Linked DNA regions of Homo sapiens: regions 1, 3 and 4 are each linked to region 2. Evidence: promoter capture Hi-C in 16 types of primary human blood cells and fetal thymus (Javierre and others, 2016). All regions are on one chromosome and are shown on one strand. Each heading gives the region's core, a stretch centred on a gene start or on the middle of the fragment in contact. The rest is flanking DNA. Distances are from core to core; before and after follow the strand shown.

What was found. Contacts are between HindIII fragments. The CHiCAGO score rates a contact against its expected background, and 5 or more counts as called.
Region 1: a contact is called between a fragment that was not itself captured here and the fragment with the promoter of RTP4 in region 2, in 1 of 17 cell types (megakaryocytes). The highest score is 5.8, in megakaryocytes.
Region 3: a fragment that was not itself captured here is called in contact with the fragment with the promoter of RTP4 in region 2 in 5 of 17 cell types (M0 macrophages, total B cells, M2 macrophages and 2 more); the score reaches 6.0 in M0 macrophages.
Region 4: a fragment that was not itself captured here is called in contact with the fragment with the promoter of RTP4 in region 2 in 5 of 17 cell types (M0 macrophages, total CD4 T cells, naive CD8 T cells and 2 more); the score reaches 6.2 in M0 macrophages.

Annotation. Positions count from the first base shown.
Region 1 is chr3:187,653,823-187,656,522 of GRCh38, forward strand. No RefSeq gene overlaps it. Among named protein-coding and RNA genes, the nearest start is that of SST, 15 kb to the right of the region's middle. The HindIII fragment of the contact is 525 bases long and covers 1,187-1,711 here.
Region 2 is chr3:187,366,967-187,369,690 of GRCh38, forward strand. It overlaps RTP4 (receptor transporter protein 4), which reads left to right and starts at 1,419. Exons shown (of 2, transcript NM_022147.3): 1 at 1,419-1,630. The coding sequence starts at 1,476. RefSeq lists an enhancer at 1,280-1,629. The HindIII fragment of the contact is 4,178 bases long and covers 1-2,724 here.
Region 3 is chr3:187,695,428-187,698,127 of GRCh38, forward strand. No RefSeq gene overlaps it. Among named protein-coding and RNA genes, the nearest start is that of RTP2, 5.8 kb to the right of the region's middle. The HindIII fragment of the contact is 8,412 bases long and covers 1-2,700 here.
Region 4 is chr3:187,715,139-187,717,838 of GRCh38, forward strand. It overlaps LOC100131635 (hCG1645011-like), which reads left to right. Exons shown (of 3, transcript NR_034062.1): 2 at 484-602. It also overlaps a transcript of RTP2 not described here. Among named protein-coding and RNA genes, the nearest start is that of RTP2, 14 kb to the left of the region's middle. The HindIII fragment of the contact is 2,494 bases long and covers 136-2,629 here.

The DNA.
Region 1 (2,700 bases), core at 199-2,698, 290 kb after region 2:
GCACTTCACATGTAGGACTTCCTACACTCAGCCATGAACACATCAGTCTCCACTCCAGATGGGACTTGTCAAGGTCAAGGGCTATGTCTCTGAATATCCACAGCACCAAGTCAGTGCATTGGCACTCAATATTCCTTGTAATTAAATTAAATATATACAAAGAAGATTTTGTTTACTAATCCTTGAGGACCATGGGACGCTGCATTTAGAACTAAACCTAGCTAGCATTAGGAACCCACTTACCCAAATTTACTAACAGAAATTGACAACATGACCTTCACAGTCTTACCTCCCCATAAGCCAAATTGTAAATTCTGCAATTAATATATGACAGACTCATACCTGCAAGTGTCTTACAAAGATAATGCAATGAGTACTGGTAAGAGAACCAGGAGAATGAGAGTTTAATCCTGAATGTAACAATGGATATGAAACTTTTCTTCCATAAGCCTCATTTTTCTCATTTATAAAAAATAAGTTCCCAGTGTTTGACAAAACGTCTTCCTATGGTTTGGTGATAGCAACAGACCTAAAAATCCAGCATATTTTAGCTCTTATTTCAACCAAGAGCTGATCAAAGCAGCCTGTGGACCATGAGACAGAGTCCATCAAAAAATAAAAATAAGTTGATGTACTTAACACTATAGTTGAAATACTTCTTTTCTAGATCTTTAGAATGATTTATAACTCTCAGAAACAAACACAAACAAAATATAGACAACACTCAATTGTGTGCAGAGATGGACGAAAGGATGGGAATACACATCACACGAAAAAAGAAAAGTAAATAACTAGGCATGGCTAGGAGGAAAAAGAGAGAACATGGGTACTGTGAGGGGCCAGGGCATGAGAGCTCTTAGCAGTGAGTACCCTACCACCAGAGGCATTTCAGCAGTGTGTAGATGACTCCTGGATAGGGGTATGTCAGAGCAGGTTTAAATATTGAATGATGAGTTAGCTCACAGTCTCAAGAATGGTTTCAAGTTCTAAATGATGGGTGAGGGCATAGCCAGGAGATGCTGATTCTCTCTTGGGTCCCAACCACACATGTCTCTGGGAAAATTCTCAGGACAGGATTTGAAGGACATTAGTGCATTCCTGGGAGATGGTAGAAGCTGTTACAGTAAAGAAATTTGCCAGATATAAACAGCTTTCCTAAAAAGGCAAACTATATAGCAGATTATAAAGCTTTGGGCTATAATGACCTGGGGTCTACACCCCAATGAATCATTGATTTTCTTTGTGGCTGGGTTCAGTGAGGCAGATCCAGCCTTCACCCTGAGGTTAGCCTCTCAAGTCAGCTCCTTCCAGATGATTTTACTTTTATAAACAAGTGTCTGATTTGTTCAGCTCTCTATCTCCCTAGAAGTACCTGTTGGGAACTTATGCTAACTGAAATCAATGGAGTTTAGAAACATCTGCTGAGATTCAGAGAGTTCTCGTTATAGACAATTTCCAAAGAAGAAATTTCAGAGAGGTCAAATCTCAATGTGATGAATAAGTACAAAGGGACAGTAAGTAGATGGACTTAATTATATAATCTTCAAATAAAGCAAATTATAACATAAAAATTGCCTGGAAGCATAAAATGCTTATGGCTAAATGAAAGGCACTGTAAGACCAGCAGAGTTATTTAGATTTTAACTTTTTTCTCTAGTAGAAAGAGATCATCCAGCTTCATAGTGTTAAAAAAGAACTAAAGACATCAACAAGCTTTGTTTTCCTTCTTTACAAATTTGAAACAACTCAGATGTTTCTCACTAGAGGAATAGATAAAGATATTGTGGTATATTTTGCAATGAAATACTATCAACAATAAAAATGACTGAAAAATTTAAATGGATAGACCTCAAAAATATAACATAAGGTAACATTCATAAAGATTGTTAAAGCACAAAGCAATGCAACATATTAGTTGTGATTTTATACACATATAGTAAAAGTTTAAAACTTTAGGTGGGAAGAATACACATTGAATTCCTGATAGTGCCTGTCCCTGCAGAAGAGAAAAAAAACCCTTCAACTTTGTATTTATTTGTTATAAGTTCTGAAAAATATAAATATTTACAAATGGCATATTATATTATAAACATAAATATTTACAAATGGCATATTAGTCACTATGGTGACTTTCCAAATATACCCAAACCTGATATTTTTTTCTCACTGTCTTAGAAAGTGGTTCTCAAAATTAGTGTGCACCAGCATCTCCCGGAGGGCTTGTTAAAACACAGATCTCTGGAGCAATCACCAACATTTTTTAGTTATTAGGTCTGGGATTGGGCCCAAGAATCTGCATTTCTCACACATTTCAAGGTGATTCTAACACTGTTGAAGAACTAATGTCTTGTATCATAGTTACTAGTAAACATGCATTTAGACTTCGAACTAAGGACAAATATTTTAACTCATTAATATTTGTAGCTTCCACCTCGCCTAGCAAATAGACCCTCAATAAGTATCCGTAAATCGAAGGAGTTCATCTTAAAAAATAAAAATAAAAATCTATACACACACTCATATACACATTCCACCATAAGTGAGCCACTTAATAACAATGCAAAATAAACAATATATGGATGAATATGAATTGGCAATTTTATAAAAGCAAACAAAATATTACCTTAAGAGGCATAGCATACACTCAAGAAAAACCTCAGTCTATGGTCAAGAGTGTCTCATACCTAGCAGGATCTAACT
Region 2 (2,724 bases), core at 169-2,668:
GGTGAGTGTTACAGCTCATAAAGGCACAGTGCCCAGAGTTTGTTCCTTCTGATGTTCGGATGTGTTCTGAGTTTCTTCCTTCTGGTGGGTTTATTGTCTTGCTGGCTCAAGAGTGAAGCTGCAGACCTTCCGGGTGAGTGTTAACAGCTGATAAAGGCAGAGCAGACCCAAACACTGCGCAGCAGCAAGATTCATTGCAAAAACCAAAAGAACAAATCTTCCACCACGTGGAAGGGGACCCGAGCCGGTTGTCAGTGCTGGCTGGGGCAGCCTGCTTTTATTCTCTTATCTGGCCCCACCCACATCCTGCAGATTGGTCCATTTTACAGAGAGCCAATTGGTCTGTTTTACAGAGAGCTGATTGGTCCGTTTTGACAGGGTGCTGATTGGTGCATCCACAAACCCTGAGCTAGACACAGGGTGCTGATTGGTGCATTTACAAACCTTGAGCTAGATACAGAGTGCCCATTGGTGTATTCACAATCCCTTAGCTAGACATAAAGGTTCTCCAAGTCCCCACTAGACTCAGGAGCCCAGCTGGCTTCACCCAGTGGATCCCGCCCCGGGGGCAGCAGGTGGAGCTGCCTGCCAGTCCTGCGTGTGTGCCCGCACTTCTCTGCCCTTGGGCGGTCGATGGGACCAGGCACCATGGAGCAGGGGGTGGCACTCGTCGGGGAGGCTTGGGCCATGCAGGAGCCCAGGGTGGGGAGACTCAGGCATGGCGGGCTGCAGGTCCCGAGCCCTGCCCCACAGAGAGGCAGCTAAGGCCCAGCGAGAAATCGAGCTCAGTGCCGGTGGGCCGGCACTGCTGGGGGACCTGGCGCACCCTCCGCAGCTGCTGGCCCAGGTGCTAAGCACTTCACTGCCCAGGGCTGGGGGCCTGCCGGCCGCTCCGAGTGCAGGGCCCGCCAAGCCCACGCCCACCCAGAACTCTAGCTGGCCTGCAAGCCCTGCATGCAGCCCCGGTTCCTGCCCGTGCCTCTCCCTCCACATCTCCCAGCAGGCTGAGGGAGCCGGTTCTGGCTTTGGCCTACCCAGGAAGGGGCTCCCACAGTGCAGTGGCTGGCTGAAGGGCTCCTCCAGCGCGGCCAGAGTGGGCACCGAGGCCGAGGAGGCTCCGAGAGCGAGCGAGGGCTGCGAGGGCTACCAGCATGCTGTCACCTCTCACTTTGCCTATTATAAAAAATGAGAGAGAGAAAATAAAAGCGAATTTATATGTGACCCCAGAATCTAGAACAGAGCTCTTTATCTCTCTCTCAGCAAGGCCTATTAACTAACACAGTTTTGCTGCTGTCTGTTTTCAGAACAAAGACTTGTTCTGTGTACTCAGACAGTCTAAAATGAAGGTTGAAAAAAACAGCTCATGTCCATACACAGAAACAGAAACTGAACCGAACACCGAAACTGAAACTGTTTGTCTCTTCCTGAGAAACGAGCAAACCTGAAAGCTACTCTCTCAGCTTCAGAGGGAAAAAATGGTTGTAGATTTCTGGACTTGGGAGCAGACATTTCAAGAACTAATCCAAGAGGCAAAACCCCGGGCCACATGGACGCTGAAGTTGGATGGCAACCTTCAGCTAGACTGCCTGGCTCAAGGGTGGAAGCAATACCAACAGAGAGCATTTGGCTGGTGAGTGTGGGTTTCCCAGGCAATAGCTCTTCTGAGAAGAGAGGCTCAGGCTCAGCTTAGCATGATTTATTCCTCTGAGAGCTTGTTGAAGGAGTAAATGTCACCAGGGCCTCCATCCTATTGTGGTCATAGTACTCTTTAGGGTCGACATGATAAGACGACTCCAAACCTCCATTTTGTTTAACTGCTGGAAGTTTCTTCTTTTACTAGGTTTCCCTCCGTAAATATTTCTGGAAAACCCTGGAGAAGGCTCCCTATTCCATAAATTTTCCCTTCTAGTTTCTCACCACGTCATTTGTTCCAGACTACCTCTAGAGTCTTTTGCAGTCTCCCCAGCAGTCCTGACCAGCTTCCCCCAGCTGCACCAGCTCTCCAAGCCTTGGCACTGTTCAGTACAAGCCTGGGACGGAGCCTTTTTTTTTTTTTTAAATATCTTAAGAATTGGCTAAGATCAAGCAGTTACTCTGAACATTGCTTTACTGAAGGCCTGGGGATAATAGTATAGAATGATGTTGCAAAAACTAAATCTAAAACCCAGTTCATGGAGTCACCAAGTAATACTCCTCCCTTACTCACCACTTCCCTCTTTAACCCCCAGCAAGCCTCCAGGTTGCAGGAACCAGTTTCCTTGACCATGTTAGGAGGGTGAGAATTGCTGACCTGGATAATCAAATTTATTTTTAAATGACACACAGGACCTTCGGTATAGTTTTCATCTGACCTATTACTCAGCTTGCCTGCCTGCCCCATCCTGCCTCAGGTATGGCCTACTCCATTCCTTATGGACTATTAGCTATGCCATGCATCTTCAGACTTCCACACTCTTGTTCATGGAGTTCTGCTTGTTCAGCAGACCCTCCCCTCACCCCTCCCTGCTCATCCTTCAAGGCCCACTCTAGTGCCTCCTCCTCCTAAAAGCATTCTCTGGTTCTCCTAGGCAGAGTAAGTATTCCTTCGTATACATTCCCATAAGATAATGGGATAAGATAAAATATATATGTATATGTATACATAAATGATATATAATTATATATACATATGTACTATGTATTTCAGAATAATAAATTTATAAATAATATATGTATTATTATATA
Region 3 (2,700 bases), core at 132-2,631, 330 kb after region 2:
CTTCCGTTTTCAGTGGCTCATCATCCCCCAACTCACAGTCCTCAACTCAGATGCCCCAGCCTTGCTGACCCTCTGAGGCATGACCTCTCCCTTGACACAATCTTGGCTGTTTAGCCCTACCCCCAGGAACCACAACTTCAGTAACAGATGCTGCTGACGCCACTTCATCCCAGTCCCGTCCCTTCGTGTTCCTTAAGATTCCCAGGGTTGGCCAAGTTCTCTGGAGATCACTTGACTCCTGGGCTCCTTGACATCCATTTTCCCAGAAACACCATGCATCCACAGCTAGGCAATGGCCCCGAGGGTCACACACCCTGCACCAGCCCTGCTGAGCACCATCTGCAGCTGATGAAAGTGAATCCAGAACCTCATGTTCCTGCTAATTTACAACCACTCCAGCCTGATGCTCTTTTTGTACTCTTTTGCTGAACCCAACCAAATAAAGGCAGAGGTTCTTCCAGATTGCCTAGTTCTTTGCTCTTGCAGGTCCACAGAGAAATCTGACAAGCCACCAGGATTTCTTTGCCAGTGCTGAGTAAAGCCAGCCTGTGGAGACAGACAGCAGGTGGGGCACAGTGCTCAAAGCTGCCCCTCTCTGAGAACACATCTAACCAAACACTCCATCCCTGAACCTCACCTTCAGCTCTCAGGCCCCACGTGGGGGCTCTGAAGGTGGGCTATAGAAAGATGTGAATGTCGGGACAATTAAGGGTGTGAATAGGAGAGTTTCTGTTTCCAATTCCAGACAGTGATCAACACAGTGTCATCTGAACCCGGCTCATGAGTCAAACTGCCCGCCTCACAGCTATGCCTGAGGGAATGGGAACAGCAAATGCATTTACCCTGAAGGGGTGGTCCCATGGACTAGCCAGAGGGGAAGGTGCTGGGGGACAGGTGCTGTCTGCCTCCACTTGCTCACACCTCCCCTTGGGCATGACCTCCCCTGAGTGGAGACACACAGCCCTGCTCTCACCTGGAAGATCCACATCTGCAGATCTGCCTCATCTGCCCCTTCTCTCACCATCGCCAGGAACTAGGATGGCTATCAAATTTGCCATAATGTATTTTCATACATAATGAAAGAGGAGCATCTCCCTGCATCATGGGTAGCTAGTGTGTCCTACCACATCTCTGCTGAGCACAGGAATGTATAAACGCACTTTAAAACATGTGTATGGGTTATGGGTGGTGGCTCACGTCTGTAATCCCAGCACTTTGGGAGGCCAAGGCGGGTGAATTGCTTGAGGTCAGGAGTTCAAGACCAGCCTGGCCAACAGGGTGAAACCCTGTTTCTACTAAAAACACAAAAAATTAGCCAGGCATGGTGGCGCACACCTGTAGTCCCAGCTACTCTGGAGACTGAGGCAGGAGAATCACTTGAACCCAGGAGGTGGAGGTTGCAGTGAGTCGAGATCTTGCCACTGCACCAAAAAAAAAAAAAAAAATGTGTGTATGATCCACCCCTTGTGAGGCTGAGGTGAGCGATCACTTGAGCCTGAGAGTTCAAAGCTGCAGTGAACTGTGATGCCGCTACTGAACTCCAGCCTGAGCAACAGAACGAGACCATGTCTTAAAAAAAAAAAAAAAAAAAAGACACAACTGTGGCATTTAAGGTCTATGAACCCTACAAAGGGGCTGTAAGCAACTGGCAATTGGCACCCCATCCCTATGGTCTACTTTCTTTCCCAGACCCAGTTGACCAGACCCACTTTCTTCCCCCACCCCCGCCGCTAAGACAGAGTCTTGCTCTGTCACCCAGGCTGGAGTGCAGTGGCACAATCTTGGCTCACCACAATCTCCGCCTCCCAGGTTCAAGCAATTCTCCTGCCTCAGTCTCCCAGGTAGCTGGGACTACAGGTGTGCACCACCACGCACAGCTAATTTCTCTATTTTTAGTAGAGATGGTGTTTCACCATGATGGCCATCATGCCCAGCTAATTTTTGTATTTTTAGTAGAGGCAGGGTTTCACCATGTTGGCCAAGATGGTCTCTATCTCCTGACCTCGTGATCTGCCTGCCTCAGCCTCCCAAAGTGCTGGGATTACAGGCGTGAGTCAACGCACCCAGCCCAGACCCACTTTCCATATCCTCTCAGGAAATAAGGTAAGACAACACTGCAGATGCTACTCAAGAGAGGCAGGAGCACAGAGATAATCTATTTACAGTGTTTATCTACCTTTAGCAAACCTCACACCACCTTTACCTGCCCCAGAAGGCTTCATGCTGCACCTTTAAACCTGCACCCACCTCTTGGTGGTATAAGTCCACATACATTTAAGTGGGAATTTCAAGTTCTGGACTGGAGTTCACCAACAGAAATTTCTGTAATGACGTTCTATATCTGTACATTGCAATATGTTAGCCACTGGCCACATAAGGGTACTGTGCACTTGATATGTGGCTGGTGTGACTGAGGAACTGAATTGTTAATGTTATTCCATTCTAATTAATTTAAATTGAAATATCCACATATGGCTAGTGGCCAACATATTGGACAGTGCAGGTCTAGACAATTCCAGCCAAGCAGACCCTAGCACCAGAGTAAAAAAACTAAGTTTCAGAACGACAGGAGCAGGCTCTCCAGGAGAGGACCAGGTACCTTGTCCCTAAGCATTGAATGGGGCCACTGCCCTCTCCAAAAGGAAGCAAGGCAGGATGGGCAGAGGCAGCTGAAGGTGAGCTTAAGGACGAGGCAGGATT
Region 4 (2,700 bases), core at 133-2,632, 350 kb after region 2:
TCCCTCGCCATGATTAAAATCAGTTTCTAAATGGGGTAGGATCTTGTGTAATCTCAAGTTTGAAAGGGACCTTAGAGTCATTTAATCCAACCCTCCCTGCAAGCCAAGATTGCTGCCAACTCACCACACATCTTAAGCTTAAATCACCTTCAGTGATGAGTTCAGATGCTCACCCAAAGCCCGTTCCATCTTTAGACACAGGAAATCCTTTATTCTATCAAGCTGAGTTCTTCCTCTTTATAATTCCTGTTCATTGATATAAGGTTCCCCCCGCCAGGGTTCTGTCAAAGAAGTAATCAGATACATGAATGTATATGAAGAAGGTAACCATTTAGTGGCAGCACTGAGGTTTCTGGAAATAGGAAATCATGGTAGTATTATTTCCGAGGAACTAATACTGGCATAGGCCTTGGGGGAGCTGTGTCCTAGTCCTTATAGAATTTCTTTGCTTAATGTCACTTGGCTTCCTTTCCTTTATGATAGAGTTGGATTCGATCAGAATTCTCACCACTGGTTCTAAGTCAGAATCATCTGGAGAGCAAGAAGCAGAATGTCTGAAATCTTCCTATGGTACAGAACTGCTGGATGAGACCATCAGTGGGGTAAGCTCAAATACTCCATGATAATTCAAGACATGATTAACTATAATAGTCTCCAGTTCTTGTTGAGGTTTTTGTCAAGCCCATGATGGCCTGGTATGTAAGTTCTTGGTGATTCCTATTTCTTAAAGACCTACCTAGATCTACAGCTTTCTCCCATCTGCATGATCAAAGTGTGTCGTTCACAGAGCACAATTATTTTGTCCTGTCGTGCTCTTTTGGACAGAGACCCACCAGTGACATAAAAGACAAAACTAGCTAGAGAAGAAAAAAGAGACGTATTGCCTGATCTTAGCTGAGTGCCATGACCTTCTTGTTCCCCATTCACCTCATCTGTAAAGAGGGAAGACAAACCCACTTCAGTGAGTTGTCGTGAGGGTAATTGAGACCGTGAGTGTAAAGCCTACTGGCAATGAGAAGGCTCTCCAAATCTCAATTCCCTGAGTCTTTGACAGCGAGAAGAAAGTGAAAACGAGAAGCTAGGGTGGTGCCTTTTCTGAGAGCATTTTTCTTCATCTTTCTTCCCATGAACAGCCTCTGTTGAATTGTATCATGTCCCCACAAAATTCATACGTTGAAGTCCTAACTTCTAGTACCTTAGAATGTGACCTTATTTGGAAATAGGGTCGTTGCAGATATAATTAGTTAAGTTGAGATCATTAGAGTGGGCCTTAATCTAACACAAGTGATGACCTCATAAAAAGGGAAGAACTTTGGATACAGAGACACAAACACAGAAACACCATGTGAAGATGAAAAGATTGAGGTGATGCTTCTACCAGCCAAAGAGTGCCAGATTGCCAGGAAATGACCAGAAGGTAGGAGAGAAGGCTGGAACAGATTCTTCCTTACAGCCCTCAAAAGAAACCAACAGTGCCAACACCTTGATCTCGGACTTCCAGCCTTCAGAACCATGAGGCAATAACATTCTATGGTTTAAGCCATTTCAGCTGGTGGTACTTTGTTTCAGCAGCCTTGGCAAACTAATTACACCGCTAGAGGTGACTCCTACTGGTGACATCAAAGGACAGCTCTGTCCAGATGGAAGGAGGCACTGAAGTTCCACAGAACAAATGGGAGACACACGAGAACCCTGAGAGAGCCTCTCCATGGGCCACCAGCTCAACATGGCTGTCCACCTTGTACTGCCGTGAATGGACAATTTGCCATTCTGAACATGCCCCTTCTCAAGATATGCAGAATCCATAGGAACATCAGTTTTTTAGTATACTTTAAGTTCTGGGATACATATGCAGAATGAGCAGCTTTGTTATATGGGTATACATGTGCCATGGTGGTTTGCTGCACCCACCAACCTATCATCTACATTAGGTATTTCTCCTAATGCTATCCCTCCCCTAGCCCCCAGCTCCCGACAGGCCCCAGTGTGTGATGTTTCCCTCCCTGTGCCTATATGTTTTCATTGAGGAACATAATTTATTAGCCATAGTTTTATATATTTTGGTGTTTCCTTGTAATTTTCCTTCCATATATGTCCATGTTTTGTTTTGTGATTTTGACTACGAACCTTTGAGGGCTGGAACCACGTTACAAACCTCACTGGGAGTCAGGTGATGTTTGATAAGAATTCTTGGTGTGACCTTAAGCATGTCACCTTTCTTTTCAGGCCTGGTTTCCTTGCCTATGGAAGAATTATTATCACTAAGCTCTCTCCAGTTACAATATTCTGTGATCCCAACTCCATATGTATTTACATAACCAACCTGCCTTCTTGGGGTCCTAAAGGGAAAGAAAGACCCAGGAAACTCATCTTTTAGATATGTTGAGCAGCTGTCATCTGGGGTTAAATGAGTCAGCCTCATTTAATAAGGGGCTAGACCCCAAACGTTTGGGAGCAATGTAGTACCCAGGGGCTGTAAACCCCACTAGGTCTCCTTCCTAGACTCCAAAGTCCTCCTGCCTGGGCATCTGTCTTTCTAGAAGGCCACTTTTTTGTGTTAATCTTTTTTCTTTTTTTCTCCCATGAGTCATAGGGAATGAGAGAAGGCCACTTTCTTAGTGAGTGCTGAAGCTTTCTCTTCTTTGGAGGCAGGCCCTGGATGCTATATTTCATGTAATGGGCAGCCTTCCCATGGTAGGG